Regions from separate parts of the Homo sapiens genome. Here regions 2, 3, 4, 5 and 6 are each linked to region 1. The links are contacts of gene promoters, found by promoter capture Hi-C in blood cells and fetal thymus (Javierre and others, 2016). All regions are on one chromosome and are shown on one strand. Each heading gives the region's core, a stretch centred on a gene start or on the middle of the fragment in contact. The rest is flanking DNA. Distances are from core to core; before and after follow the strand shown.

What was found. The method cuts DNA at HindIII sites, captures the fragments that hold promoters and counts their contacts. A CHiCAGO score of 5 or more calls a contact.
Region 2: a contact is called between a fragment that was not itself captured here and the fragment with the promoter of CEP78 in region 1, in 4 of 17 cell types (monocytes, total CD4 T cells, M2 macrophages and 1 more). The highest score is 6.8, in monocytes.
Region 3: a fragment that was not itself captured here is called in contact with the fragment with the promoter of CEP78 in region 1 in 1 of 17 cell types (non-activated CD4 T cells); the score reaches 5.3 in non-activated CD4 T cells.
Region 4: a contact is called between a fragment that was not itself captured here and the fragment with the promoter of CEP78 in region 1, in 5 of 17 cell types (naive CD4 T cells, non-activated CD4 T cells, naive CD8 T cells and 2 more). The highest score is 6.6, in naive CD4 T cells.
Region 5: a fragment that was not itself captured here is called in contact with the fragment with the promoter of CEP78 in region 1 in 1 of 17 cell types (monocytes); the score reaches 5.9 in monocytes.
Region 6: a contact is called between a fragment that was not itself captured here and the fragment with the promoter of CEP78 in region 1, in 1 of 17 cell types (total CD4 T cells). The highest score is 5.5, in total CD4 T cells.

Annotation. Positions count from the first base shown.
Region 1 is chr9:78,233,099-78,238,309 of GRCh38, forward strand. CEP78 (centrosomal protein 78) reads left to right here and starts at 2,977. Exons shown (of 17, transcript NM_001330691.3): 1 at 2,977-3,505. The coding sequence starts at 3,253. RefSeq lists an enhancer at 2,706-3,375 and a silencer at 3,001-3,370. The HindIII fragment of the contact is 10,697 bases long and covers 1-5,211 here.
Region 2 is chr9:77,859,946-77,865,156 of GRCh38, forward strand. All of the region lies in intron 2 of GNAQ (G protein subunit alpha q), which reads right to left. Among named protein-coding and RNA genes, the nearest start is that of GNAQ, 170 kb to the right of the region's middle. The HindIII fragment of the contact is 6,410 bases long and covers 1-5,211 here.
Region 3 is chr9:77,889,710-77,894,920 of GRCh38, forward strand. The region is part of intron 2 of GNAQ (G protein subunit alpha q); the gene reads right to left. Among named protein-coding and RNA genes, the nearest start is that of GNAQ, 140 kb to the right of the region's middle. The HindIII fragment of the contact is 323 bases long and covers 3,025-3,347 here.
Region 4 is chr9:77,914,888-77,920,098 of GRCh38, forward strand. All of the region lies in intron 2 of GNAQ (G protein subunit alpha q), which reads right to left. It overlaps LOC107987081 (a long non-coding RNA gene), which reads right to left and starts at 4,107. Exons shown (of 2, transcript XR_001746758.3): 1 at 462-4,107; 2 at 1-339. The HindIII fragment of the contact is 1,233 bases long and covers 2,197-3,429 here.
Region 5 is chr9:77,931,694-77,936,904 of GRCh38, forward strand. The region is part of intron 1 of GNAQ (G protein subunit alpha q); the gene reads right to left. Among named protein-coding and RNA genes, the nearest start is that of GNAQ, 98 kb to the right of the region's middle. The HindIII fragment of the contact is 7,087 bases long and covers 1-5,211 here.
Region 6 is chr9:77,961,211-77,966,421 of GRCh38, forward strand. All of the region lies in intron 1 of GNAQ (G protein subunit alpha q), which reads right to left. Among named protein-coding and RNA genes, the nearest start is that of GNAQ, 68 kb to the right of the region's middle. The HindIII fragment of the contact is 498 bases long and covers 2,547-3,044 here.

The sequences.
Region 1 (5,211 bases), core at 1,727-4,226:
ATGGAAAGGTAAGTGGGCTAGGAAGTCGGGGTATAACAGTCTGGATTGACTGGGAGTAGAGTACAGTGAACAAGTGCTTAAATGATACCATTTACCTGTATTCTACTCAAACACTCACTCACCAGATCCCCTGAAGGAGGAGAGCTCATCTCTTATACCACCCAGTAGAACGTCCCTCCCAAGTCATGCACCTGCAATGAAGCCAAGGCATTTTGTCTTGGGCCAGGTGTGAGCCTGGTTTGTCAGAGGATCCCAGAGGTGCCACAGAGAGACAGTTTTCATTCAGTGTTCAGGGAAGTGTGTGGGTGAACCCACCAGATGCTGAAAGGAGAACTGGAGCCATTCTTTTTTTGAAGCAACTATTAAGTCATAATTTAACTGAAGCAGAGAAGAGATTATCAGGCAAGCCTTGAAAGAAATCTTGCCACACTAAAAATAAGTAAGCACAGGAAACATAAATTTTAAATGAATATGTTAAATGATTATTAATATGAGGAAGACTTCTCTGAGCTGCATTCATAGGCAGTGGCTACAGGGTGCTGGCAATAGCTTGCGGGGATAATAGGGAAGAATGTTCCTACAATTAGTCATTAGTTAGCACTTTCTCTGTGCTAACACTGTGCTAGGCATAGGGAATGTAAGCATGAATGAGACATGGTTCTTGCCTTCAAAGGGCTTTCAGACTCTGGAAGGAAAACCATCTAAAAAGATGTTTATCATTGGATGTTCTAAGTGTTATGCTACAGGGATGTCAGGGAGCACAGCAGTGAGGTGCTAAACAAGCAAGGGAGGAGAGATGAGGGTTAGAGAGAAACAGGCTTTCTAGGGAAGGTGCCCCAAACCAAGGCTGGGAAAAGAATGGAAGTTAGCCGACTAAATAAAGGAGCAGCCTATGAAAAGACCCAGACAGCAACAATAGGACATCAGAAAGTTCAAGCAGTTCTGTGTATCTAGAGAAGACATGCCAGGAAGAATGTAGCAAGGAGAGAGACAACAGAGATAGTCAAATTATGAAGGAGCTTGTATGTCAAGCTACGTGACATAGATCTGACACTGAGGGCAGTGAGAAATCTTGGCTTTCTAGGGGGCAATTTAATGGATGAAGAGATCTATCTGTGTTAGAAGTAATCTGCCTAGAGTGGGGAAGTTAAGGCTGAGCAGAAGACAAGAACACCCAGAGAAACTGTAAAATGTCAGAAGGGGTGAAAGCTGAGGGTAGAAACCTGACGAACAGCAATATTTAGAGTGGATATGCAAGAGAAGCCAAAGAATGAGACTGAGAAGAAGAAATTCGAGAGGTAAAGAAAAAGAAATCAGGTGGCTTCATGGGAAACAGGGAGGAGGGAGCTTTAAAAAGGTAATGGACACTACATTAATTGATGCTGGAGACTAGAAAGAAAATGGATAGAGCAACAAAGAAATCGTAAAGTTGGAAACAATTTAAATTACCATCAACAGAAAAACAGACACATTACTGTATGTTTCTACATGGAACTCCCATATAACAACAGGGAAAATAAATGAATATCTCTATATGTCAACACGGATGGACCTAGTAAAGGTAACGATAAGTAAAGTAGGAAAAGAAAATATAGAATGTTATATACTGCTTACTTACATATGTAGCAGAAATATAAAGACATACATTGCAACGATGAATACCAAGTTCAGAAGAGCAGTTATCTCAGAGTCAGAGAGTAGTCGTGATTGGGAAGGTGGTTACACAAAGCTCTTCAACAGGAATGGTAATGTTTCATTTATTAAGCTGGTTTATGAATATACAAGCGTTTACTATATTAAGATTTGAGCATGTCGCACATAAAAATAATTGGTGACCATATCTCCGGAATTTTAGAGACGCCTGCATATGTGTGTTGGAAGTAAGTTGGAGTATCCGGAATGCAGTGGGTGGAACAGGAATGCAATAAACACAATGTCTAAGGCTCTACCGGAGGACTATCATTGCTCTAGCAATTGCATACCAATAGAAGGAGAGGTCAATTATCTGGATTCTTCCACTTAGCTTCCACTTAACTTCCCCGTTCCTCAGTTTCCCCTTTTGTAAAGTAGAATATAATAGTATATTCCTTGAGATGTTAGGAGAATGAAATGATTTCATACTTAAACATTGCTTAAAATAATCCCGAGGACATTATTTCAAATAAGTACTAGTTACAAGGGAGTTAGCCAACATCATCGTCAGTACAAAACAAACTGATTCACAGCAAACACAATAAAGTCCTGAATTCATGAAACACTCTTCAATTTGCCAGGAACCGTGTGAGATATGCAGAAACTACAGAAATTAAGGCTTATTTGTAGATATTAACACAGACATAAAAGATTTAATGACCGCAGTTCACGTTCAATCAGCCGTTCCCACATCCCTTGAGTGCAGTCTCTGTGCTGGCTGGACACTGCAAGCACAGACACATTCCTCAGATGTTTAGACTTTTTTTAAAAGTGCGTTGTTACATCCACATTTCACTTTTTATTTTCTTTCTTTTTTTGAGACGGAGTTTCGCTCTTGTCGCCCAGGCTGGAGTGCAATGGCAAGATCTCGGCTCACTGCAGCCTCCGCCTCCCGGGTTCTAGCGATTTTCCTTCCTCAGCTGGGATTACAGGCGAGTAGCTGGGATTACAGGCGCCCGCCACCATGCCCGGCTAATGTTTGTATTTTTAATTGAGACGGGGTTTCGCCATGTTGGCCAGGCTGGTCTCGAACTCCTGACCCCAGGTGATCCGCTCGCCCCCGCCTCACACAGTGCTGGGATTACAGGCGTGGGCCACCGCGCCCGACCACACATTTCACTTTTATTCGGATCGATCAGTAAACTCTTTCGCAAACCCTCAAACTCTCCCGACCACTATCTCAGGTAGCAGCGAACTCACCCGTCCTCAGGAGGCGGGACCTGCGTGCCGACGCACAGCGAGCACGTTGACGTCTTGGCGCACCGTTCCACGGCACCGCCCACCGGCTTGAATCCCGGCGCCTCAGAGGACTATGAGGCGGGCGCCAACTGCTTGGGCCGCAGGGCGGGAGGCAGCGCGGGAGTGGGGCGTTGAGGGGCCGGCCTAGCTTGGGGCTCTGGCCTTGCGTCTTCCGACCGAATCACCGCTCCTGAGCCCGGTGCGGGGCTGCCGCTATCGCCTGGCCGTGGGTGCCGGAGCGGCCGGGTTGCGACTCAGCGTTCTTGGGTGGGCGCGGGCGGCGTCTCCGCGGCGGGCATCCCCCGAGGCCGCCCTCGGGCCATGATCGACTCCGTGAAGCTGCGCCGCGACAGCGCGGCGGACTTCTTCTCCCACTACGAGTACCTGTGCGCGCTGCAGAACTCGGTGCCGCTGCCCGCCGTGCGCGCCTGTCTCCGGGAGGGCGTGCTGGATTTCAACGCCGACCGCCTCCGCGGGGTGGACTGGGCGCCTCTGCTGAGCACCCTCAAGATCAATAAAGACCTGCCCTTGGTCTCCATCAAGAGCTTCTTCCAGCCCTGGCTGGGGGACACAGGTTTGTAGTTCCCGCCTCCAGGGCCCCTCAGTCGGTGCGGCGAAGTGGGTTTTTAGGTGAGTGGTGTCCATTGTCGGGGTATGTGTGCAATAGAAGGGGTGTGCGGCCTGGACACTCACGAGCTAGGTGAGTGGCTTAAGGTCTCTAGGGCTTCAGTGTGCTCATCCGTAACATGGGCTTAATAACGAGACCCAGGTTATGTGCGCCTTCGCAAGGATTCCCTGCGCTGCTGATGCCTGCAGAGCTCTTAGCACAGTTTGGGACATCATTAAACATTTGACAGATGTTACCTATTTTATTGAATGACTTTGATTTGCCTGATAGAGAACTAAGCAGGTAGGAAATTAATACATGTCAGCCTTTGTCTTTTTTTTTTTTTTTTTTTTTTTTTTTTTGAGACACTGTTTCACTCTGTCGCCCAGGCTGGAATGCAGTGGCAAGATCTCGGCTCACTGCAACCTCCGCCTCCCGGGTTCAAGTGATTCTCCTGCCTCAACCTCCCGAGTAGCTGGGATTACAGGCGCGCGCCACCATGCCCGGCTAATTTTTGTATTTTTAGTAGAGATGGGGTTTCACCATGTTAGCCAGGCTGGTCTCGAACTCCTGACCTCAGGTGATCCGCCCGCTTCGGCCTTCCAAAGTGCTGGGATTACAGGCATGAGCCACCGCGCCCGGCCTGTCTTCATTTTTTAAGGTGTATATAAGAAGTTTGTAAAGTGCTTTACAAATACAAGCCATTTGTAAATGTATAGTGGTATAATTAGGGATCCAGACTCTCTGATTATTCGGAAAATATGTTAGGTCAACTATGATATATGACAAAATGCTGTTATTCCTTTGAGCACTTAGCATTTTCTACATAATGGAGGCAGCTTCCTATAGACGCTAGCTAGGTAACAGGAAGGAACAGTTTGTGCAAAAGTTTTGGAAATAGGAGAGAGTATGCAAGCTGAGTTACAGGACTGGAATTTAGGTTTGAGAAAGAGCAGAGAGAGTTGAGGCTGGAAACCTTGTGGGGGCCAAACAGGGAGGGTCCTCGTTTGTCCTGTCATAGAGTTGGATGTTTATCCTGAAGGTTTTGGGAAACCGCTGTAGGATGATGAGATGGAATTTCCGTAGGAGCTCAGTCTAGCCTCCATATGGAAGACAAATTAAAATTGGAAGGATGGTGAATTGTAATCTAATGGCCCAAACTAAGGTATAGAAAAGAAGGGCTGGGGCCGGGCACCGTGGCTTATGCCTGTAATCCCAGCACTTTGGGAGGCCAAGGCGGGGGGGTGTGGATCACCTGAGGTCAGGAGTTCGAGACCAGGCTCACCAACATGGTGAAACCCCATCTGTACTAAAAATACAAAAAAAAAAAAAAAAAAAATTAGCCGGGCGTGGTGGCGGGCACCTGTAATCCCAGCTACTTGGGAGGCTGAGGCACGAGAGTTGCTTGAACCCAGAAGGTGGAGGTCGCAGTGAGCTGAGATTGCACCGTTGCACTCCAGCCTGGGCAACAAGAGCAAAACTCTGTCTCAAAAAAAAAAAAAAAGAAGGGTAGGATTTCAGATATCTAAGAGAATGGATGGGCGTGGTGACTAGTTAGAAGAGGGGGGCAGCAAGTATGGGTGACAGTTTACAGCAGCGTCTGTAAGTGAAACACAGCAGCGTCTTTCCATGACACAGCCGAGTTAACTCGAATGAGATTGGGGGTGGGAGGA
Region 2 (5,211 bases), core at 1,480-3,979, 370 kb before region 1:
TGTTTAACTTCTTCTTAGGCAAAGAAAAAAATCCCTACATAAATGCACAGACATCTATAATTTATAACAGAAAGGAAAGAAATGATTCAGTGTGTTTCATGCAAAATTTTTCAAAGGCGTCTAACGTCTCCATTTAATAGAAGCCATAAAATACTCCTAAACTGAGATTTCATATTAAAGCTGCCCTAGAACAGACTCACTATTTCTTAGTAGCATGGCCCATGACCACCTGGGCATCTGCAGGCGGCTGAGTGGGGGTTAGCTGGAGCTTATGGCTGGGTTAGAGAGTGAAGGTAGCTCATTAGTGCTTGGTTTCTCTGTGCTCTCTTAGTCCTGTTCAGACAGCCCATCTTTCTGACTAGTTTCCCTGCTAGACAATGCCCTGAGGAGGTTGGTATGACTCTAAAGATGACCCCATCTCACTGCCAGTGGTTCTCAAAAAAAGGCTGACTGCACTACCCCACCCCAGGGGGTATTCTGTTGCTATAAAGACTGTGGAATGCTACAGAGATTGAGTAGGTGAGGCGGCGGGGGGATTGTTTGGGGATGAAACTGTTACACCTCAAATCATCAAGCATTAGTTATATTCTCATAAGGAGCGTGCAACCTAGATCCCTCCTGCACATGCACAGTTCACAATAGGGTTTGCACTTTTGTGAGAATCTGATGCCGCCACTGATCTGACAGGAGGCGAAGCTCAGGCAGTAATACTCAGGCAGTGAGTGCTAGTTCGCCCGCAGCTCACTGGTCCATGGCGCGGGATGTTCGGGACCCCTTCCATAACACACTGAACAGTCCCCACAGGACTGGAAGGCAGAGCATTTATTTCCCTGGCTCTTCCGTGGAGGTTGCCTCAGGCTAGATGTACTCCCAGCTGAAGTTCATGACTCCACTTAAGGCAACAAACTCTCCTTATCTCTCACTCTCTGTGGTAAGAAGAATAATGGCCCCTCAAAGATATCCACCATCCTACTCCCCAGAATTTGTGAACATATTACTGTCTAAAGTCAATTTTCACTGCTATAAAAGAATACCCGAGGCTGGATGTATTAGTCCATTTTCATGCTGCTGATGAAGACATACTCAAGACTTGGCAATTTACAAATGAAAGAGGTTTAACGGACTTACAGTTCCATGTGGCTGGGGAGGCCTCACAATCATGATGGAAGGCAAGGAGGAGCAAGTCATGTCTTACATGGATGGCAGCAGGCAAAGAGAGAGAGCTTGAGCAGGGAAACTCCAGTGTTTACAACCATCAGTTCTCATGAGTCTTATTCACTATCACAAGAATAGCCCAGGAAAGACCTGCCTCCATGATTCAATTGCCTCCGGCCAGGTCCTTCCCACAACACATGGGAATTCAAGGTGAGATTTGGGTGGGGAAACAGCCAAACCATTATTATTCTGCCCCTTGCCACTCCCAAATCTCATGTCCTCATATTTCAAAACCAATCATGCCTTCCCAACAGTCCCCCAAAGTCTTAACTCATTTCAGCATTAACTCAGACAGTCCAAAGTCTCATCTGAGAGAAGGCAAGTCCCTTCCGCTTATGAGCCTGTAAAATCAAAAGCAAGTTAGTTACTTCCTAGATACAATGCGGGTACAGGCATTGGGTAAACACAGCCATTCCAAATGGGAGAAATTGGCCAAAACAAAGGGCTACAGGCCCCACACAAGTCCAAAATCCAGTAGGGCAGTCAAATCTTAAAGGTCCAAAATGATCTCCTTTGACTCCATGTCTCACATCCCGGTCACACTGATGCGTGATGCATGAGGTCAGGCATGGTGGCTCACGCCTATAATCCCCACACTTTGGGAGGCTGAGGCAGGGGGTCACGAGGTCAGGAGTTCGAGACCAGCCTGGCCAACATGGTGAAACCCCATCTCTACTAAAAATACAAAAATTAGCCGGGCGTGGTGGCATGGCACACACCTGTAATCCCAGCTACTCAGGAGGCTGAGGCAGGGGAACTGCTTGAACCTGGGAGGCGGAGGTTGCGGTGAGCTGAGATCGTGCCACTGCACTCCAGCCTGGGGGACAGAGCAAGACTCTGTCTGGGGTAAAAAAAAAAAAAAAAAAAAAAAGAGGTGGACTCCCATGGTCTTGGACAGTTCTGCCGTTCTGCCCCTGTGGCTTTGCAGGGTATACCCCTCTCCTGGCTGCTTTCACAGGCATGCGTTGAGTGTCTGCAGCTTTTCCAGGTGCATGGTGCAAGCTCTCGGTGAATCTACCACTCTGGGATCTGGAGGATCTCTTGTCACTCCACTAGGATCTCTTCTCACAGCTCCACTAGGCAATGCCCCAGGAGGGACTCTGTGTGGGGGCTCTGACCTCACATTTCCCTTCCGCCCTGCCCTAGGAGAGGTTCTCCATGAGGGCCCCACCCTGCAGCAAATTTCTGCCTCGGCATTCAGGCATTTCCATACATCCTCTGAAATCTAGGTGGAGGTTCCCAAACCTCAATTCTTGACTTCTGTGCACATGCAGGCTAATACTATGTGGAAGCTGCCAAGGTTTGGGGCTGTCACCCTCTGAAGCCACATCCCAAGTGGTACCTTGGCCCCTTTCAGCTACTAGTGGAGCAGCTGGGCCACAGGGCACCAAGTTCCTAGGGTGCAAACAGCAGAAGGACCCTGGGCCAGGCCCATGGAACCATTTTTCCCTCCTAAACCTCCAGGTTTGTTATAGGAGAGGGTGCTGAAAAGGTCTCTGACATGCCCTGGAAACATTTTCCCTATTGTCTTGGGGATTAACATTTGGTTCCTCGTTACTTATGCAAATTTCTGCAGCGGGCTTGAATTTCCCCTCATAAAATGGAATTTTCTTTTCTATCACATTGTCAGACTATAAATTTTCTGAACTTTTATACTCTGCTTCCCTTATAAAACTGAATGCCTTTAACAGGACCCAAGTCACTTCTTGAAGGCTTTGCTGCTTAGAAATTTCTTCCGCCAGACACGGTGGCTCATGCCTGTAATCCCAGCACTTTGGGAGGCTGAGGCACGAGGATCACCTGAGGTCAGGAGTTTGAGACCAGCCTGACCAACATGGAGAAACCCTGTCTACTAAAAACAAAATTAGCCGGGTGTGGTGGCACATGCCTGTAATCCCAGCTACTTGGGAGGCAGAGGCAGGAGAATTGCTTGAACCCGGGAGGCAGAAGTTGCAGTGAGCTGAGACTGAACCATTGTTCTCCAGCCTGGGCAACAAGAATGAAACTCCGTATGAAAGAAAGGAAGGAAGGAAGGAAGGAAGGAAGGAAGGAAGGAAGGGAGGAAGGAAGAAAGGAAGGAAGGAAGAGAAAGAAGGAAATTTCTTCCACCAGATACTCTAAATCATCTCTCTCAAGTTCAAAGTTCCACAAATCTCTAGGGCAGGGGCAAAACGTTGCCAGGCTCTTTGTTAAAACATAACAAGAGTCACCTTTGCTCCAGTTCCCAACAAGTTCCTCATCTCCATCTGAGACCACCTCAGCGTGGATTTCACTGTCCATATAATTATCTGCATTTTGGTCAGTCATTCAACAAGTCTCCAGGGAGTTCCAAACTTTCCTACATTTTCCTGTCTAATTCTGGGCCCTCCAAACTGTTCCCACCTCTGCCTATTACCCAGTTCCAAAGTCGCTTTCACATTTTCGGGTATCTTTTCAGCAGTGCCCCACTCTATTGGTACCAATTTACCGTACTAGTCCATTTCACGCTGCTGATAAAGACATATTTGAGACTTGGCCATTTATAAAAAAAAAGAGGTTTAATGGACTTACAGTTCCACGTGGCTGGGGAGGCCTCACAATCATGATGGAAGGCAAGGAGGAGCAAGTCATGTCTTACATGGCTGGCAGCAGGCAAAGAGAGAGCTTGTGCAGGGGAAACTCCAGTATTTAAAATCATCAGATCTCATGAGACTTATTCATGATCACGAGAATAGCAAGGGAAAGACCTGCCGCCATGATTCAATTACCTACCACTGGGTCCCTCCCACAACACGTAGGAATTCAAGATGAGATTTGGGTGGGGACACAGCCAAACCACATCACTGGGTAATTTATAAAGAAAAGAGGTTTATTTGGCTCATAGTTCTGCAGACTGTACAAGAAGCATGGCACCAGCACCTGCATCTGGGGAGGACCTCAGGCTGCTTCTGCTCAAGGCAGAAGGCAAAGGGAAGCAGGCACCACATGGCAAGAGAGGAAGGAAGAAAGAGGGGAGGAAGGTGCCAGGCTTTTTTTTTTTTTTTTTTAAACAATTAGTTCTCTCAGGGACTAACAGAGCGCGAATGCACTCATTACTGGAGGAGGAAACCAAGCCATTCATAAGGGATCTGCTCCCATGACCCAAACACCTCCCATTAGGCTCCACCTCCAACACTTGGGGTCAAATTTCAACATGAGACTTGGCAAGGCCAAACAAACCATATCCAAACCATAGCAGTTGCTTTACATAGCAAAGGGAAGGTTGCAGATGAAATTATTGTGGCTGATCAGCTGACTTTAAGATAAGGAGATTAGCCTGGATTATCCAAGTGGGCCCAATGTAATCACAAGTGTCCTTAAAGTTGAAGGAGGCAGAGGAGGTCAGAGTGATGCAAAGTGAGATGGACCTGATCCCTGCTGCTGCGTGGGAGGATGGAGTAACAGGACACAAGCCAAGGAATGCATGTGGGACCATCCTGGAAAAGACAAGAAAACGGACACTCCCCTAGAGCCTCCAAGAAAAGAATGTAGCCCCAGTGACACTTGGGTTTTGACCAGTAAGACCAGTTCATACTTCTGACCTCCAGATGTCTCCAATGGTTTAAGTTACTAAACTTGTGGTAATACGTTACAGCAGCAATAGGAAATGAACACACTCTTTTCTGGTTCTGCTCACTGTTCTCCTTTCAGGCCTGGGGAGGAAACAGACTGTCTTCTACCACATCATGAAATCTCCTTGGTGGTTTCCATACCCATGCCTTTGGAGACAGCTTCTTTAAACCCTACTCTAGAGTATTTTGAGTGTGCCCTTGTTGGAATTTGGAATCATGTATCCCTCCTACCTTATCATTTGGCTTTTTCCCCATCAAAAAGAAAATTAACACCTTTTCACCTACTAAAAGAAAATTAACCCCTTTTCACCCTAAGCTGCAAACGGAGTCAAATTTATTAAAACCTAGAATGACTCCACATTTGTCAGTAATCTATGAATTTCTTTTAACTTAACAAACAGCTCAC
Region 3 (5,211 bases), core at 1,936-4,435, 340 kb before region 1:
CTAATGAGTCCTGCCCACTGTATTCAATTAGTATGCTTCTCTTTGTCAAAATACGTCACCGCTTATTTCTAACCAAATGCACAACTATCTTTATACCTGTTCTTTTGGTTTTTTCCCAAACTCTTAAATTATCATGGCCTAGAAATTTTAATAAACTGACATTTCATCCCAAATGAAGCTTTTGCTTCCATCTTTCCAGTTATCCGAAATGTTTGTCAAAGTCAAATTGTATTAATTTTACATGCAAACATTCTATAATATGCATACTAAAAACAAGTAAAACTACAAGTTAGTTACTCCTTTTATCTACTCGCTTACAAAACACATAATAGCTAATCCTTCAAATAGACATGGGTTTGTAAGTTTTCTACTTTATTCTTTATTAAAAATTATTTTAAATGTTTAAATTTTGAAATACTTTATCTTAGTTATAATGTATCTTAATTCTGTTCCCAATGTAATTGCCGATTCGCACATATCTTTGTATTGGTTATTTGGGTTGGCATACCATACTCCTAGAATCCTCCACAGTACTTCTTCCAGACCCCTAAAAAACTTGAGAGTTTGACTGAAAGACTTCATAATAATTTATCGAAGCCATCTGGCATTACTTAAGCTATGCCTAAGAAAGCTTTAGTAGCATTCATTTTCTAAATGTTCTTATTTCATCCTGAAAATAGAGGGGGCATAGAAATATGAGAATTAGAAACGTGTCATAAAACTGCATTGCAAGGCTGGGCACAGTGGCTCATGCCTGTAATCCTAGCACTTTGGGAGGCCGAGGTGGGAGGATCACCTGTGGTTGGAAGTTCGAGATCAGCCTGACCAACATGGAGAAACCCCGTCTCTACTAAAAATACAAAATTAGCCGGGCGTGGTGGCGCATGCCTGTAATCCCAGCTACTTGGGAGGCTGAGGCAGGAGAATCGCTTGAACCCAGGAGGCGGAGGTTGCGGTGAGCCGAGATCACACCATTGCACTCCAGGCTGGGCAACAAGAGTGAAACTCTGTCTAAAAAAACAACAGCATAGCTCTAGTAACAAAAATTCCATCAAAAATGCATTGAGGAGACATGATCAGGATACTTAGTTTTCAATCATTTGCCCAGAGACTCGTCAGATGGTAGTATCTTACTCAAAAGTCATGGTATAGGTGGGGCACGTTTAGTTGCTCATGCCTACAATCCCAGTAGGAGGATCACTTGAGGCCAGGAGTTCTAAACCAACATGGGCAAGCTAGTGAGACTCTGTCTCCCTGGAGGAGTAGGAGAAGGAAGAAATGCAAAAGATATGGTATAGCAAGAGAGTGTTTTAAATTTCCATAATCTGTTTCTTACTTTATGTATCCTTGTTTCAGGGCTTAACTTTCTAATTCATTAACATAATATTCAAATATAAAATGCACTGAAGTCAGCACTTAAGCAAAAATGAGAACCTTTAGTTTTCCTTATTTTGATTTTTTTACTGTATCCATTTTGCCATTTATATATCCTCATACATATTCTCATCTAAATTATTCTTTTTCTTGCCTATTCTCAGTAGCCAGCCCTATCACACGTTCTCCTCTCCATCTCTTGCTCTCTTTCGTAGCAGCAGTTCTTATCTTTTCTCTGCACGTTTAAATAGTTTCTGTATATTTTTGTTGAATTATTTCCTTTACCTAAAATAGGTTGTTTTTTGGGGAGGGGAGGAAGTAGGAGATCGGGAAATGGTTATTTTAATTTTACATCTTAAAAATAAAGCAATTTACTGACCTTGCCACCACATAATTTGGAAGAAAATTTCACGTTTAAGTTCCTTTTGTAAGGCTGAGGACATGTTGCTATTGCTCTGTCTTTATATGAATGTATTATACGATTGTCATCTAGGACTTCCTCAACACCCCAGCCTGAGGGCCCTGCCTTTGCCACTTCTTTGAGGCCCACTCACTGCCCCCAAGTATACGCTGTCTTTCCATTTTGCTTGCCCTATTAGATATGTGAGGTCAGAGCTTTGAAAGCCGTACTAGTTCTCATTAGCAAGGCCTCCATATCAATAACACAGACCAAACAACTGTGTGCAGTGCTTGCTGTTCACTCTTCCAGTGTGATTTCATTAGCATGTATTCCTTTAGTGTCTAAGCTTTTTCTTTTTCCCCTTCAAGCACATTTTAGACTCTAAGCAACTAATCCTTGTGGACAAACCCCTTTGAACTACAGCTTTGAAGCCAGGTCATCGCCCCAGGCATGAAACAAGATGAGAAATAAGCCTTTAAATACTAATTTCACCAAACCCTGCCTTTTTTCAAAAGCCAAGATTCTGTAACCAGAAAGCACCCCCCAGATTGTTTTTTTGTTTGTTTGTTTGCTAATAGGTCTTGAGCAGCAAATTATATTATTATTTTAAAACATACTAGGTTCTAGTTTCAGTTGTCCTTCTATGGCATCTAGGGATTCTTAAATCTAGCCTAGTGCATGGATTTTGAGTCCACTGAGCTCTTCTGAAACGTTATCTGTCACAGTGGGGCCTCTCTCCCCTGCTTTGTCTTCATGGGGCTTTCCAGCCCTAGTGTGGAACCCATCCTCCTCACTCCTCTGCAGCTCTTCCCCTTTCACAAGTACCTTCTATCACTCCCTATGCCATGTAAATGCATTAAGTAGGCTCCCAGCTCTGCCCACAACCACTGCAACTGATTATCAAACACAAAATAAACACAAAGAAGGACACTGTCTTGGATTTCTCATAGGTTCAATACTGGTTTCTATCACACCCACACTGGTTTCTTCTAGGTCAATGCCCACTTTCATGGACAGTGTTCAGAATATATATATGATGTTCTATCTTACAAGAGTGAATTTCATAAAAAGTTCATTCAGAGATGTGAAATCCTCGGTGCTGCGAGTGATCTTTAACAACAGTCATAAGCAATGTTTTGTTAAAAATAGAAGCTGAAGAGCATTATTGAATATTAACATGACCTGGGCTTTATTCTGTGGCATAAATGACGTGGAAATCAAACATATGCTACTCATTCTCACTTGAAAAAAGCTTCATTTATAGGGCACAGATAAGAATCTATGAGGAGATTAAAAACACTGAATGATCCCTTTTGGAAACTAGTAAATAATACATACTTTGAAAAGAAAGAAAATCCCTTGTCATGTTTGGTAAACAAGAAGCTCCTCAAAGTTTTTCCTTCACCTCTTGAATAGGAATAAAATTAAGAAACAATGGGTGGAATATATGCATATTTGAATGTAGTAGGTAAGATAACTCTATCAAAATGTCAAAGGGTTTTATTGTTCCATCCATTACTTAATTATCTAAGGGTAAACTGCCCACTTTATGGATAATCTACTAGGCTTGGAAAGCTTCAACAGGGTCATGATGTCAAAGGGTTTCAAACCAGAGCGACTCCATCTTGAAGTCACTGGGTAAAATGAGGCTGAGACTACTGGGCTGCATTCCCAGATTAGGCACTTCAAGTCACAGGATGAGACAGTAGGTCAGCACAAGATACAGGTCATAAAGACCTTGCTGATAAAGCAGGTTGTGGTAAAGAAGCCAGCCAAAACCCACCAAAACTAAGATGTCCGTGAAAGTGAGCTCTGGTCATCCTCATTGCTCAATTATCACACATTAGCATGCTAAAAGACACTCCCACCAGCATCATGACAGTTTACAGATGCCATGGCAATGTTCAGAAGTTAACTTATATGGTCTGAAAAGGGGAGGACCCCTCAGTTCTGGGAATTGCCCACCCTTTTCCCGGAAAACTCATAAATAATCTACCCCTTGTTTAGCACAGAATCAAGAAATAACTATAAGCATACTCAGTTGAGCAGCCCATGCTGCTGTTCTGCCTATGGAGTAGCCATTCTTTACACCTTTACTTTCTTAATAAATTTGCTTTCACTTTACTCTATGGACTCACTCTGAATTATTTCTTGCTCGAGCTCCAAGAACCCTCTCTTGGCGTCTGGATGGGGATCCCTTTCTGGTAACAATGAGGAAAAGCTGGGTTGTAAGGAAAACAGATGAACTAGTAGGTCATACAAGTACTTATAGTACAAGCTTTAAGTAAATTTATGGATTCTTGTCTATTTGGCACCTGAAGAAGAATTCAAGGAAATCAGGTCCTTGCAACTAAGCCATTAGAGGGTACAGCCTCAGCATCCATTAGAGGTGAAGTCTGCTCTCCCTGCAGGGGCCCCAGTCTTGTCTGACACCTTCTTCCTCCCCACTCTCACCTGCGGACACCATGCTAAACTCTCGAAATACATTTTCTCTGAGATGATTTCAGAATGGCTCCGGCATACCAGGCACTGCTTGAGGACTTCAGGGCTCTTCTAGTGTCCCCCATTTTAGAGGTGAGGAAAATGTGTCCTAGAGAAATTATCTCACATGGCAAATAAGTAACAAAGCTAGCATTCCAATCGAGATGTCTGGTTTGTAAACTCTTCTTTCCAGAATGCCATGTCTTTCATGTTATTTCTCTGTTATCTGTACTACATAGATAAGGGTATTACAGTATTCTTAAAATATAACTAAATTTTAAATGTTTCATTTAAGTCATAAAAGAAGCAGTATTGCTAATAATACACTGTTTTAATAGAATATATATAATATATATTTAATAGAAAATATATATTATATATATTTAATAGAAAATATATATATTATATATATATTTAATAGAAAAAAAATATATATTTTATATATATATTTAATAGAAAAAATATATATATATTTTTTGGAGACAGTCTCACTATGTCACCAGGCTGGAATGCAGTGCTGTGATCTAGGCTCACTGCAACCTCTGCCTCCCAGGTTCAAGCAATTCTCCTGCCTCAGCCTCCCGAGTAGCTGGGACTACAGGTGCACGTCACCATGCCCAGCTAATTTTTGTATTTTTAGTAGAGACAAGGTTTCACCATGTTGACCAGGAAGGTCTAGATCCCTTGACCTTGTGATCCATCTGCCTCAGCCTCCCAAAGTGCTGGGATTACAAGCGTGAGCCACTGCCCCAGCCTTTAATGGAATGTTTTTTAAGGGATTTGCTTGTGATAAAATGGTGAGAATAAATATTATTGTTTTCATTGATCAAGAGCATTATTTTCCAGAAGTGTTTATTTATATAATAAACTTAAGAAGAATGCTAATTATACCTCAATATAATATTTTCTCTTAAATAAAATAACAATCAACTAAAAAAAGAATGGCAGTGGCCGGG
Region 4 (5,211 bases), core at 1,563-4,062, 320 kb before region 1:
AGATACAAAGAAAAAAATCTCTATTGGGCTGGAGACCATTATCAAAGCAAATCTGTTGTTTATTGTCTTTTTAAAAATTTTTCATAGGTGCTGTAGAATGGATAAAGTTCAAGAAAGGCAAAAGCTTCAAAATATAAGAAAATAATTTTAATAACAGCATCATCTCTTTTTTAGAGTTTCAGAATGAGAAAATCAACATGAAGAAAAACAGTGTTGAGAAGAATTTTAGAGGTTGTCTAGTACATTCCTAGCTTTATTTTAGCAAAAGTGCTTTAAAGAAATTCACATGTTAAAAATACATTCTATTTTGAACACAGCCAGATAAGGAGATTTCTGTACCTCTTTTAGTATCCCATTTCAATGACTGTCACTCTGAAGTGACTCTGAGGTTTTCCTTAAATACCTCCTAAATCTGGTCACATTGTTTGTTTTATTCTTTGTTTTATTCTTTATTTCTGTACCTCTTTTAGTATCCCATTTCAATGACTGTCACTCTGAAGTGACTCTGAGGTTTTCCTTAAATACCTCCTAAATCTGGTCACATTGTTTTTTTGTTTTATTCTTTAAAAAGATGGAAGGTTAGTAGTATTCATTCTCTACATAATGACAATTCCTCTTATAACTTCAAAACTTTCAAAAACCATTTATGAGACATTTTCACATACATTATCTATTTAACCCTTGAAATAATCCCATTACTATTTGTCACAGATGGAGAAATTCAAGGCTTAGAGAGTTAAAACAATTGAAGCTGGCGGGGGTGGGGGTGGTGTGGAAATGGGATAATCCCAAGCTTATTATATTCAATCCTTAGAGTCAAATTCAGCTAGCTACTTCGTATATAACTAAGTCACTAACCCCTTTACTTCTTTCCACTCCAGAATAAGAAATTTTATTTTAACAAAGACTTAGCAAACAGTAAAATCAGAGGGCTTGCTTCTATGGAGAATCCATGTGTCACTTTATTTTTCACGCTGTGTATTTTTGCAGTGAAGATGTGTAATTTGTAACACCATCATTCCCCTTCTTCCACCAACTGTACCCAGATTTCCCTCAGGGGCTGTCAATCATATTGTTGAGCCTTCCCCTGTCTAAAGACTTAGCACAGAATCCAGGCTGCTCCAAATCGGCACTTTTTCCCAGAAATCTGAATCTTAGGTGGGTGACAGAAGATTGGAAATGGCCAGAGTTCATCCATTTCACAGATGAGTTCTCTGAGCCTGCCCTAGTTTCTAAGAGGCCATCCTTCAGCTTCTACTCCCTTCTCCCAGTGAGTCCATTTTCAGATAAATTCATTTTCTGCTTAAGTTAGCCAGTGTTGGTTTCTGTTGCTTGCAAGCAGAGAACCTTGACTGATAGAGCTCTTCAGAGGGGTAGATAAGAATATGTATTTATTAATTCTGCCTCTATTATGTATTTATTATCTAGGTGGGAAATACTAAAATGAAATCAGCCTTTTGGCATTTTGTAAACTAAGAAAATTCACTCATGTTGCACAAAGTAGTAATGTTTTATTCCTTGATCAAGGGCAACAATAAGTTGGCAAGTTTTCCAGAATCCTGGCTACATTTTTCAGGAAAATGAAAAATGGCTTCTGGGACCTTGGATTATTCAGGAAGTACAGAAAATTCAGAAAGTGTCAAATGTGTTTAACGAGGTACTTTCCTGTGACAAGTTCTTTCTCAGAATTGCTTAGAGAGGACAAAAGGCACTGTAGCAATACATCCTCTCATAACCCCTCCATGCTAGGCGAAAGGGAAACACAGGTGTCAGGCCTCAAAACGCCTGGCTAGTTTGTCAGAGACAGCTGCAGCCAAGGTGCTAAATAAGCCCTGGTTATCAGGACTTTCAAGTCTAAAAGGAAAAACTGGTTTACAAAAAAAAAAAGGTGCAACTGTCCACTCAACATTGGCCCAAGGTGAGGCGGAGTTCTCTTAGACAACTGTCTTAAAATTCACTACATGAAGAAGCATTGTATCAGATTCTTTTCTCTTCCCAGGACTGGCAAAGAGAGCAATGGCCTATCAATACTTTGAAATTGCCACAATACCACCCTTATTTCACAGTTCATAGAGATTATAAGCCAACTATCAAAGGATACTATGATCCGCTATCTGGAGTAATTCACTCAATAAACAAAAGCTTCTACAACATGTCTGGCATGTTACGGAGGAGATAAAGAATTATAAAGGAAGAAGCTTGCTTACTGTAAGATAATTTTCAATCTGAGAAAATAAGGCAAACAAATATGAAATAACTAGTAACAGGCAACGCAGGAAGAACCCCAACTGCCAAGTTCAGACAGTAAAAAATCAAGGATTCCAAACCCTGAGATCCACTCCCTCAGCTGTAACTCAAAGACAGTTCCTTGGCCACATAAACACAGGCACTTTATATCCTTTCCTTTTTAATTAAGAGCTGATTTCAACACCAAAGCAAAGATCCATCAGAAAAGCACATCGGTATAAAGAGGGCGGAAGGAGGGTGGGGGGGAAGAAGGTAAGAAAAAATAACTACTGGGTACTAGGCTTAGTACCTGAGTGACAAAATAATCTGTACACCAAACCCCCATGACACGAGTTTACCTATAAACAAACCTGCACATGTGCCCCTGAACCTAAAGTAAAAGTTTTAAAATAATAAACTTAAAAAAAAAAGGAAGCCATAAAATAACAGGGATAAAAATTCTTTCTTTTGTAAACTAAGAAATGACACAGTTATCTCACAGTCAAATGCCCTTGCACCTAGTAGAGCCTTAAATATGGCTTTTGATTTGACCGAGTGACAAATACTTAATCCCTTTTTATCACTAGTTATCAATATTTGTGTTCAGGGAAAATGCAAAATAATATTTAGGAATAAACAAACCCTAGTTCACAGACTATTCAGAAGTCCTAAGACGTATGTCTTCTCTCACCTGGGCTGAGTCCAAGCAGCTCACCTATAAACAGTGCTTGTTTGGCAAAAAGTACAAGAACAGGACAACAGATACACACTCGGGGAAGAATTCATCTTTCTTTTGGTAAAATGTGCAATTACAAGCTCCTTACTAATTATGCAATCTGTTGACAAAGGGCATGCAATGTCACACCATTTGGTCCAGAGACTGTGAACTGGACTCCCCCTGACCACAGCACCCTCCGGCCAGCTAACCAGGCAGGACTCTCGGTTCAAGCAATAACAAGTAAGCAGGAGCAACAGAAACCTCAGTTACTCTGGGGTGGCATTCCAAAAGCCAGAATCAATTTCACAGCAAACAAAACTGAACACTTTCCCAGTTCAGAAGAGCTCATATAATGTACAGGCCATGTTTTGCTTTATAAAATACAGGAGCTCAAAAGCAAGTACAAAGTTATGCTGGACAATATTAGAAAGTATCTTTATTTATGCTACTATAGATTATGGCCAATGTGATGGTGGGTGCAGAGAAGCTTTACTAAAAACCAAATGGTTATGTTTTTAAGCCAAATTTCCAAAATAGTTATTTATTTTATATCTTTAGTGTCACAATAATATAAATCAGAATGTGATACCTCCATGTAACTGTTAATCAAATATACACCAAATTCTTTAGACTATTTATAAATTATAAAGTATATACCTTTGTAACCATAGAAAACTCTAACCAAAACATAAAATATTATTATTAAAATAATAAACACAAGAAAATAAAATCCAAATTTAGCCTGCATGTGAAATCTTTCATGAAACATCCTAAACCATTTTCTAGTCCTCCTCTATAAGAATTCCACTCAAGCTAAATTGGCAGATTTCTACATCCCATGCAAATTCCTTCTTCTGATCATTTATTATAGCCATTCCTTCTCCCCAATGTGCCCCTCCCTCAGATCTGCCCTTCTCCCTTTCTGGATTGTAAATTTCTGCCCAGCCCTGATTAAACTTTTCTGTATCCCTGACAGTATATAGCATTTATTCCCTTATGCATACAGATTTCAAGAGTTATTTGTTGATTTGAATAATCATTTCGACAAGTTTAGGGCAGACGAGGAGACTCTCAATTGTTAAGCTCACAAATAATTTTTTTTGTTTGAGATGGAGTCTTGCTCTGTTGCCCAGGCTGCAGCGTAGCGGCATGATCTCAGCTCACTGCAACCTCCACCTCCAGGGTTCAAGCGATTCTCCTGCCTCAGCCTCCCAAGTAGCTGGGATTACAGGCATGTGCCACCACGCCTGGCTAATTTTTGTATTTTTAGTAGAGACAGGATTTCACCATGCTAGCCAGGCTGGTCTCAAACTCCTGACCTCAGGCTACCAGCCCGCCTTAGCCTCCGTAAGTGCTAGGATTACAGGTATGAGTCACCATACCTGGCCACAAATAATTTACCTATTCAAAAAGATGTATTTTTTGAGCACTTACTATGTACAAGATATAATGCCAGGGACAATGAAGAATGAATGCAAAGATGGAACTGATGAAGACTGACTTTCAAGGAGCTCAGAATCTAGTGAGGAAAATAAGATCAACATCCAAGTCACCATAATCAATACAAGCTAGGCAATTACAAACACTTCGCTATGGATATGCTAAAGAACAGTAGGATTACTTAGCACTATGAGGGGCTGGGAAGCTATCAGAGAACTCTCGGAAGAAGAGGCAGCTGAGCTGAACAGGAAGGAGTAGACATGATGTCCTTAACAAGCATAAACAAAGGCAACAAGTGGGCAGAGTTCAGAAAGTTAATGGATGAAGCAAGGTGAAAATGACGCTTTAGAACATGTATATGATATAGAGAAAAAGAAACAAACGTGAAAGTCATTTGTAATATGAATGAAAGGTGGTTAAACATGGGAAACTGGGAGGTCATCACACTAAAGTCATGATATGTAGGAGGATTTATGAGGATAATTATGGTATCTGAGGAAAACTCATATATTGTAACGTTTTATGATGTCAATTTATAACTGAATAGTATTCAACACAGTAATGTCTACTTAATTAGAATTGACATGAGGCCGGGAGAGGTGGCTCATGCCTGTAATCCCAACACTTTGGGAGGCCGAAGCAGGCGGATCATGAAATCAAGAGATCAAGATCACCTGGTCAACATGGTGAAACCCCGTCTCTACTAAAAATATAAAAATTAGCTGGGCATGGTGGTGCACGCCTGTAGTCCCAGCTACTTGGGATGCTGAGGCAGGAGAATCGCTTGAACCTGAGAGGCGCAGATTGCAGTGAGCTGAGATCGCGCC
Region 5 (5,211 bases), core at 1,119-3,618, 300 kb before region 1:
TATTATGCATATGCTACCTATTCCAGTTCCTCCTCTTAATAGCCCTGTGGCCTTGGGTAAATTACCTGTCCTCTCTAAGCCTGCTTCTTCATCTGCAAATACCACCACCTAGTTTACAGCTCTGCTCTGAGTTTTCAATTAGTTAATCCAAGTAAAGCAGTACCTGGTAGGAAATAGACAATAAATGTTAGCTATAATTTACAATGCAAAATCAAGTGCAAAAATGAGAGAGTAGTCTGATAAAAGGCTACAGGGCAGGGTTGGGTGGGGGGACAACAAAACCTCAGTAGTCAAGAGAAATAATATTTTAATGCAATACTTTTAAAAGTCAAAATTAATACCCAAAATTCACAAAGAATAAAATAAAGACAGGATCATTAACAGAACTATGTTGCACCATATTGGCACCTAAGAAGCTGCCTTTGGTTTTGATCCAGTGGCAAGTGCTTTTATTCACCTTATCTAGTCTCAGCCCTGACTCAAATTCTCCATTCCCAAAATAACTGAGATAACCATCACCAGCATTTCAGTATTTAAATTCATAGTGTTTGGAGATTTTTAGCTTGAATTGTTTATTCTTAATTTTATTGGATATAGATTGCATATCAGACATTCTTCCAGTATCAAGGATGCAGGACACAGTCATTACTGTCACAAAGGTAACATGCAAGTGTGAGCAGATGATTTATTGATAGATGAATAATAAAATATCTAATGGAGATGAGTGCTATGCGCTAAAGAATTAAACGACAATGAAATACAGAGTGACCTGACTGCTGCTTTGAGATACCCTCTTAAGAAGGTACATTAAAACTAATATTCAAGAACCCGCAACAAGAAAATTAGAAGGAAACAGCATTCCAAGCAGTTGACCAGCTGACTTGGAGGCTGAGGTGGGAACATATTTAGCTGGCATGTTGCAGGTACAAGAGGGTCAGTGTGGTTGTGGCACAGCAGCTGGATGGCAGAGGTAGGAGGCACGGCAGGAGCACAGGCTACAGTTGCAATGGCCAAGTCACCTGGAGCATTATATTTTAGGAAACAAGTTGGATTTTATTCTAAGTGCACTGGACAGCCTTGGAAAGTCTGAACCAGTGAAGTAACAGGCCTTGATTTATGCTAGGTAAAGAATGGATGACTGTTAAGAACAAATTAGTAGGGTATTCCAACAATCAAAACAAAAAAAAATCCTAAAAAAGTCTGTGTGGGGCTGACAAGGGGAGGGATAGTTTGGAGATGGATGAAGTGAAAAAGGGAGGAGATGACATAGGGAGAACTCGTTGATTTCTGGCTTGATGGATGGAGGCACTAGATTCTTAGAGAAGCCTGAAGAGGAAAGAGTTTGCAAAGAGAGGAGGTTAAGTTTGAAATGTGTATTCATCCCAATGAAAAGCACTCTCGTACACCTAGAAAGTTCACTGCATCGACATGGAGACTACCCACGGAGGATGAAACAGAGGATGCGATTTGTGTCCTACATTCTCTGGGCCTCAAAGGCAAGGACACAGACATGACTGACCGTCTTCTGCTAATGTGTGAGTCAGAGCAGGCTGCAAAACCTGATTTGCAATTTCACTTCCTATGAGATAAATCTCCTTAGCTAAAGAAAAGGTAAGAAACTTGTTGGTCTCTAAGTTCCACACACAGACACACAAACACACACACACACATTTATAAAGTGGCATCATCTGGCCAGGAGCGGCGGCTCATGCCTATAATCCCAGCACTTTGGGAGGTCAAGGTGGGTGAATTGCTTGAGACCAGCCCATGTTGAAACCCCATCTCTACTAAAAATACAAAAATTAGCCAGACGGGGTGGTGCACGCCTGTGGTCCCAGACACTCGGGAGGCTGAGGTGGGAGGATCACTTGAGCCCAGGAGGCAGAGGTTGCAGTGACCTGAGATTGTACCACTGCACTCCTGGGTGACAGAGTACGACCCTGTCTCAAAAAAAAAAAGTGGCACCATTGATACATGCACACTTCTTTTAGAGAAAACCGGGACTTCCCTGAACATTATTTGGGAAGCAGAAAGATATAAAAATATAAAGTCATAATAATAACAGATTTTAAGCAGCGAGGACCCTTCAAACTTAATACACCACCCACAGAATTTAACATTTTTTTTCCAGATAATAAAAAACGTGACACACGCAATCCAGATTATTAGGTCACACATAAAGATAAATTGCACACTTTAAAAATGCAGCGGCTGGGAAATTATGGGACGCTCTTTTGAAAAGCACTCTGAATTTCCTTATTAACCCTGCAAATACTTCCTCAGGATAGAACAGCTCATGTGGCCCTCCTCAAAAGAGAACAACAAATTACATTTATAACAGAGGAAAAGGCCTAAGATGGATTTGAAATGCCATTTTCCACCTTATTGCATATTCATCAAGAGATCAGCTACAGGCAGAGGTGCGGCACAGAAAGAACATCAGCTGAAGTCAGGGGCCCTCCCAGCCCGCCCACAGGAGACAACGATCCGCACATAGCCACTTGGCCAATGAGAGCTGAGGATGAGCGAATTGGCCTGGATGACCTCAAGGGTTCTCTCCAGCGTTGGATTTTATGATCATTTTCCCTCTCTCTATATTGTTAAACAGCATTAACAACTATTAAATTTCTCACGAGAACGTCACCTAGTATTTAGTATATATTCAAATAATAATTCAAATAAGTTGACTAAAAACTACAGTAGTCTTCTTTCAAGGTTAATATGTCAAGTTTTTTTTTTGCTTTTACTCACGTGGCTCTTCACTTTGAGCCTCTAAAAATAATTATCTTTCAAGGTAGGGGAATTAAGGTGCTAGAGGGAGCCAGCCAAGTACTGCCCCAGTTAAGAGAAGCAATGATCTAGGAAGTCTCAAAAAATACGCAGATTTTCAGATTGCAGAACATGGCATGCTTTCTGGGCTAATATTATCCCAGTAATTTCAAATAATGACATTGAGAATACTAAGAAGGACTTATATATGTTCCAAGTGTGCCTAATACGCATACAACCACAAAAGGATCTGGAAGACAGAAAGTATCATGGAAAACAAAAGTTACTGAATCTGCACATGCAGAGCAGTTACTGACCTTTAAGGACTTTTAGAAGTCCACTGTTCATGTGGCATCTAATAGTCAGTTAAAAGGAAAATTAGGGCCGGGTGCGGTGGCTCACGCCTGTAATCCCAGCACTTTGGGAGGCTGAGGTGGGTGGATCATGAGGTCAAGAGTTCAAGACCAGCCTGATCAACATGGTGGAACCCCGTCAATACTAAAAATACAAAAATTAGCAGGGTATGGTGGTGTGGGCCTGTAGTCCTAGCTACTCTGGAGGCTGAGGCAGGAGAATCACTTGAACCCTGGAGGCAGAGGTTGCAGTGAGCCAAGATTGCACCACTGCCCTCCAACCTGGACGACAGAGTGAGATGCTGTCTCAAAAAAATAAGAAAATTATACCCAAAGAAATACTTCCCTTTTCTTAAAGGAAGAAAAAGAGCATGATTAGAACACACATGTACAAGCAAGCCAAACCTCTGCATTGTTCACATTTTAAAGTTTAAAATTCTCTCTTGGGGGGAAATGTTGATGTTGATCAAAAACCATAGTACCTGCTGGGGGGTCTCATTATTGGCATTAAACCACCCAGCAAGGACTCTTGAAAGTATCATTTCCAAATGGCTATTTGGGAGAATCCAACTACGTCATAAAGAGATGCATTAGGAAATCAGTTGGGTTCTCACTTCTCCTAAAACAAAAAATTTTTTAAGATTCAGCTTTTGTAAAAAGCCAATACATTTGCCATTGGAGATAGGAAGTTGCCCCTTGGTAGCGAATGCTCAGAGAACTTCGAAGATAGGTACATGAAATGTCCCTGTTCTTTTAGGTTATAATTACTCCAAAGCAGTCCAAAGATGCTTCTTGTGTGTTCCACATGTGCTGTCCAAAAGACAGGCGCAACATCTGGTACCACCAATTTTGATGTCAAGACGATTTCACCAGCCAGTTAAAAAAGGTACCCTATGGGCTGTTTCATTAATTTAAATTTTGTCCTCTAATTTATTTCACCTGATTGCCCTATGTTCCTCCAGTATTCAATCCAGTGACAGGAACAGACGTGCAACAAAATGGTAACAGAGCAGGAGTCTCTCTTCCCATCTTTCCCCTTCAGTTTCTTCAGAAACAGCAATAGTCAACCTAAGCCTAAAATAAATAAATGCGGGTTTCCTTACTACTAAGTAAATTGCACATGGAAATATGCCTTCTTCCTGCAAAGGGAAGGATCTCTTTGCTCGGAAGTATCACACCTTGAAATGTATAACAAGCAGGCAGGAAATAAGAAAGGACACTCTTACAACCAGAATTACTCCTTGAGAAAGTAAAGTTAAAGAAAGTACATCGGTGCATTTTATTAATGTTTAGTAAAGCCTGCACATATGATGACTTCCTACCATTTGCCTGAAAAACGAGGAAGTGAAACCAATTTGCCTCTTAATTTAAATTGAGCCTCTCCTCTTGTTCTACAACCCATGAAGTGATCCAAGAAGCAAAAACTAGAGTTAAAGGGGAAGAGATATCATAACCCAAGATATAATGTATGGCTCTTGGATTAGTTCTTGGTTTAGGCCTCATGACCCAACAAATGCTGTCTGAATTATAGCAGTATATACTCAGACCTTATTTTTAATACACCGACCCAATAATACATAAAAATAACATTGGAGGAAGCATAATAAACATGGTTTTAGTCTTTAAAAAAACGATCAGAAACCAACTGTCTTATATGCAACCTTCCCCCTGAAATGTTTCATCATAGAAAAGATAAAAAAGTCATTAAGGCATCTAGTGAAAACAGTGCCTCACATAGACTGTACTTGCTTACTTGAACCAGTAAGGAAGTTAACAGAAATTAAACCAACTAAATGCAAAATACTTTAACAAATCAAAAAAAGAAAATATTGAATCACTAGGCATCACTAAGTTGGGTGATATTTCCAGGGGTTTGTGAAATCACACCCATACCCCCGCACTCACACCACACATGAGTTGGGGCAGGGCTTCAAAAACCAAAAGCTGTAGCCTAACGCTGACCCTAGAATGATTCCTTTCTTGTCCTGTTGTGTACTTAAGGCTCTCCCAAGTATACTCACCATCAACTTTTTTTTAGAGCCTGTCAATATACTACATATTAAATGAATGACTGCTACAATATTCTAGA
Region 6 (5,211 bases), core at 1,546-4,045, 270 kb before region 1:
ACACACGACAACAAGGAGCACAGGGATACAAATAAGGTAAATCCTAGGACTGCCTCCACATAACCACACGGCTTCAGTTTCCACACAACAACATGGCAAGGAGGATCCCAAAAAGAACCCAGTGCTCTCACTGGGTTGAAAAACAGAGATCAGAATCGAGAAAGGCTTAGAATCCTAGAATGTGCATGACAGAATGCTGGAAAGGAAAGAGCTGAACAGAGAGAAAGCTCTTGAGATGTGCAGAAGGGTGCCCTTGAACCTGAAGCTCAATAATAATGATCTACACGTGAGTGGGGTGAGAAAGAAACATGGGAACACATAGTCTGAACAATTCCCAAGGTTCACACAGGTTCACTGCACCACAAAGAAGGAATCAGTGAGTTTTCATAAGGGTATCAACGTAATAGTGAAGTTTAAGTAACTATGAAAGAGAGGCTGCTCTAAACTTACCCTAACAAAGCCTAAAAGCAAGACTACAAATTACTGAAGTGATCCCAAGTAAATCAGCTGCATGACAGAACAAAGTCCACCACTTTTCAAAGGAATCCAAAATATCCAGCAATCAACAATGTAAGATTCACAATGTCTGGCATCTTACCCAAAACTATCAGGCAAATAAAGAAACAGGAAAAGGTGACCCATAACTCCAAGAAAGCTCAATAAATTTAGACCCAGAAGACAAGGATGTTTTTTAAAAAGCAGTACTAGTTAGGTTCCACCACCTCAAGAATGTAGAGGAAAACATAAACATGAAGAAAAGAGAAAGGAATGTATTTTTAAAGTCCCAAATGAACTTCTGGCAATTAAAAATACAGTATCTAAAATGAAAAATACAACAGATAGAAATAAGAGCAGATGAGACTGAAAAGAAAACATATGTGAACCTGATGACACAAAAATAGAAATTATCAAAAATGAAGCACAAAGGGAAAAAAAGACAGAAAAAAACGAGCAGTCTCAGTGTGGAACAAAATCGAGTTATCTAATATACTTGGAATTTGAGTACTAGAAGAAGAGAGAAAGGTGGGAATATAAAAGGAAAAATATTTGAAGAAACAGCATCTGAAAATCTTCCAAATTAAATGAAAACTATAACACTATTGATCTAAGACCCTCAACAAACATCAAGCAGTAGAAACATAAAGAAAACTACATGAGGCAGTTCATAATCATCCTGCTGAAAACCAGTAACAGAGAGAAAATCCTAAAAGCAGCCAGAGAGAGAAAGACACTTTACATGTAAAGACACAACTATTTACTGCTTACAAAAAACACTTTCAATATGAAGATAAAAATGGTTTAAAAATAAAAGAAGGGGAAAAGATACACCATGCTAACACTAATTAGAAGAAAACTATGGTGGATATATACAAGAGGTCTTCAAAAAGTGCATGGAAGGCCAGGCACAGAGACTCACACCTGTAATCCCAGAACTTTGGGAGGCCGAGGCGGGCGGATCACTTGAGGTCAGGAGTGTGAAGCCAGCCTGGCCAACATGGTGAAACCCCGTGTCTAATAAAAAATACAAAAAGTTAGCCGGGTATGGTGGCAGGCACCTGTAATCCCAGCTACTCGGGAGGCTGAGGCAAGAGAATTGCTTGAACCCGGGAGGCAGAGGTTGCAGTGAGCCAAGATCACGCCATTGCACTCCAGCCTGGGCAACAATAGTGAAACTTAGTCTCAAAAAAAAAAAAAAAAAAAAAAACAGTGCATGGAAAATGTGTATTATGAAAAAACTATGCATGGATTTCAAAAATGTTTGTACCAAAATACAGACTTGTTATAACATATCTGAACAGGATCTAGTTTGAGGCACTAAGAATAAGAAGATACTGGTTTGAAAAACGCCACTATCAGAACAACACGAATTCTGCTAAAATTGAAGTAAGAACAAATGCCAAATTTATAGTGAAACTCACGTGGAAGAACGGTGAAATCACTTTGAGGACAATGCCCCAAAGAAATCAGCAGTTTATAAGTGGATAGCTCATTTTAAGAACGGATGAAATGATGCTGAAGATAAGGCCCACAACAGCAGACCATCCACATCAATTTGTGAGGAAAAAATTAATCTTGCCCTAATTGAAAAGCACTGACAATTAACAGTAGAAACAGTCGACACCACAGAAATCTCAATTGGTTCAACTTACATAATTCTGACTGAAAAATTAAAGTTTAGCAAACTTTTCACTCAGTGGGTGCCCAGGTCAGCTACAGTCAAGAGTGGAGCTTTCCGTGGAAATTTTAAACAACTAGGATCAAGAGCCTGAAGCATTTCTTTGAAGAACTATAACAAGAAATGAAACATGGCCTTACCAGTACGATCCTGAAAAAAAAGCACAATCAAAGCAATGGCTACGAAGAGGTGGAAGTCAAAGCAAATGCAGCAGAAGGGTCAAGAGCAAAGGTCATGACAAAAGGTTTTGGGGACACTGAAGGCATTTTGCTCACTGACTTTCTGAAGGGCCAAAGAACACCAACACCTGCTTATTATGAGAGTGGTTTGAGAAAGTTAGTCAAAACTTTAACAGAAAAATGCCTGGGAAAGCTTCACCACAACAATGTTCCTACTCGTTCCCTCTCATCAAAAAAAGGACAATTCTGTGAGAATTTTTACAGAAAATTATTAGGCATCCACCTTATGGTCCTAATTTGGCTTCTTCTGACTTATTTTTGTTTTCTAATCTTAAAAAAAAATTTAAAAGGCACCCATTTTTCTACAGTTAATAATGTAAAAAAGACTGCCTTGACATGGTTAAATCATCAGGACCCTCAATTCTTTAGGAATGGACTACATGGCTAGTATCATTGCTTACAAAAGTGTCTCGAACGTGATGGGGCTTATGTTGGGAAATGAAGTTAATACTTTTTATCTTTTAATCAATTTTTCCACAAAATTTCTGAAGTCATCTCATATTAATAACAGACACAGATTTTAATGCAAATAATATTATCAGAAATAAAAACAATCATTTCATAATGATAAACCGGTTAACTTATCGAAAGGACATAACAATCCTAAATGTTTATGTATCCAATAACAAAGCTTCAAAATATGAGAAGCAAACAATGATGGAACTGCAGAGAGAAACGGACAAGTCTACGATTATACTCAGAGATTTTAATACCCCTTTCTCAATACTTAATAGATCAAGTAGAGAGAAAAGCAATAAACCAAGTAGAGAGAAATACATCAAAGATAATAGAGGACTTTAACAACCCTGTTAACCACTTAACCAAACTGACATAGGCTGCTTTCCCAACAACAACGAAAAACATTATTTTCAAGTGCACCTGAAGCATTTATCAAGATAAACTATATTCTGGGCTATAAAACCAGTCTCAATAAATTTTAGAAGAGTCATATAAAATATGGTCTCAGACTACAATGGAATTAGAGATCAGTAACAGAAAGATACCTAGAAAAATCTCCAAATATCTGCAAACTAAAAATAAAACAAAAACAACAAGAAAAACCACTTCTAAGTAACACATAAGAAAAAAATCAAATAGATATTAGAAAGTATTAGAAACTAAGTAATAATGAAAACAACATATTAAGTGTGAAATACCACTGACTTGTACTTAGAGGTAAATAGGTAGTACCAGACACCTGTATTTAAAAATACAGAACTCATTTTTATAACTAATAATCTTAAGATAAAATACCCATTACAAATACTCAACTTCTCTAATATACTGGGCTTTTACTCAATTACAATTCACTGTACAACCCTTCACTCAAGCCTATCCACAAGCCAAAACCTGGTATCACTTCTATTAGACCTAATGTGACTAGAAAAGTCTATACCAAAAACAATTTCACAAACCCAGATCACAGCCTCCATTACTGTAACTACTCAAAAAGGCCTAATTAAATTTTATTTCCTCTTTTTTTATTCCACCCTTTTTTACTTTACTCTGAATTATCTAACCTGTTACCCTGAGTAATTTCAATCACAACATAAACACCAACAATGTTCAACCAGCAACTACCACCAATCAACACCCATAATTATATAAAGCACCCACACCCACAGAATCCTCACGAATCAACCCTGTCCCCTCACCCTCAAAAACCATTCAACTTCCCATACAATTAAAATTAACTACGACCACCAGCCCATCATACTCAGCTATCCATCAAATTAACACCAAAACTGAATTTCATCAAAATTAAAAACTGCTTGTCAAAAGACACTGAAAGAATAAAAAGACAAACCACAGACAAGGAGAAAATACTTGCAAAGCATACATACAGACTTGTATCCAGAAAATATTAATACACAAAAAAAATAAGAAATCAAGTAATCCAAAGGAAAAAAAATCAGTAAAAGGTTTCACACTTTATCGAAAAAGTTATACAGATGGCAAAGCACATGAGAAACTACTCAACAACATTAGTCATTAGGCAAATTAAAACCACAATTAGATACTTCACACCCATTTAAAATGGCAACATTTTTTTAAAAGACTGACTATACCAAGTGCTAGCAAGGATATGGAACTCTCATACACTGCACAATATTAAAAATCACTTTGGAAAACAGCTTGGCAGTTTCTTAAAAAGTAAAACATACCCCTGGTAATGTGTTCCAGCCATTCCAGTCCTTGGATTTACTCCGAGCAAAAAAAAAAAAAAAAGGCACGTATCTATCAATAACCTATGCATGAATGTTCACAGCAGCTTTATTTGTCGTAGCCAAACACTGGAAACAATCCAAGTCTCCATCAGTAGATGAATGGATAAAGAAAATGTAGTACATCCATACAACAAAATATGTCTCAGCAAAAAGGAGCGAACTATTGACACACAACAACATAAATGAATCTAAAAATGACTGAGTGGAAAAAGGCAAGCAAAAGTGGACATACTGTATGTTCCCTCAGGTGTAAAACGTAACTAAATACAAGTAAGTCTGCAGTGACAGGAATCAGATCAGTGTTTGGAGGGGGAGATAGGTGGGAGGGAGGATAAAAAAGAGGCACAGGCAACCTTCAGGTTTGATGAATATATTTGTTATCTTCATGGTGGTGATGATTTCATAGACACATGTAAGTGACAAAACATCAAATTCTACATATTAAATATGTGCAGCTTACTGAGTATCAATTACATCGCAAAAAAACTGTTATTACAAAATGTTATTACAACAAACTATAAGAGACAATGTAAATTCTATTTTACTAGGATCGTATTACCTACAAGCA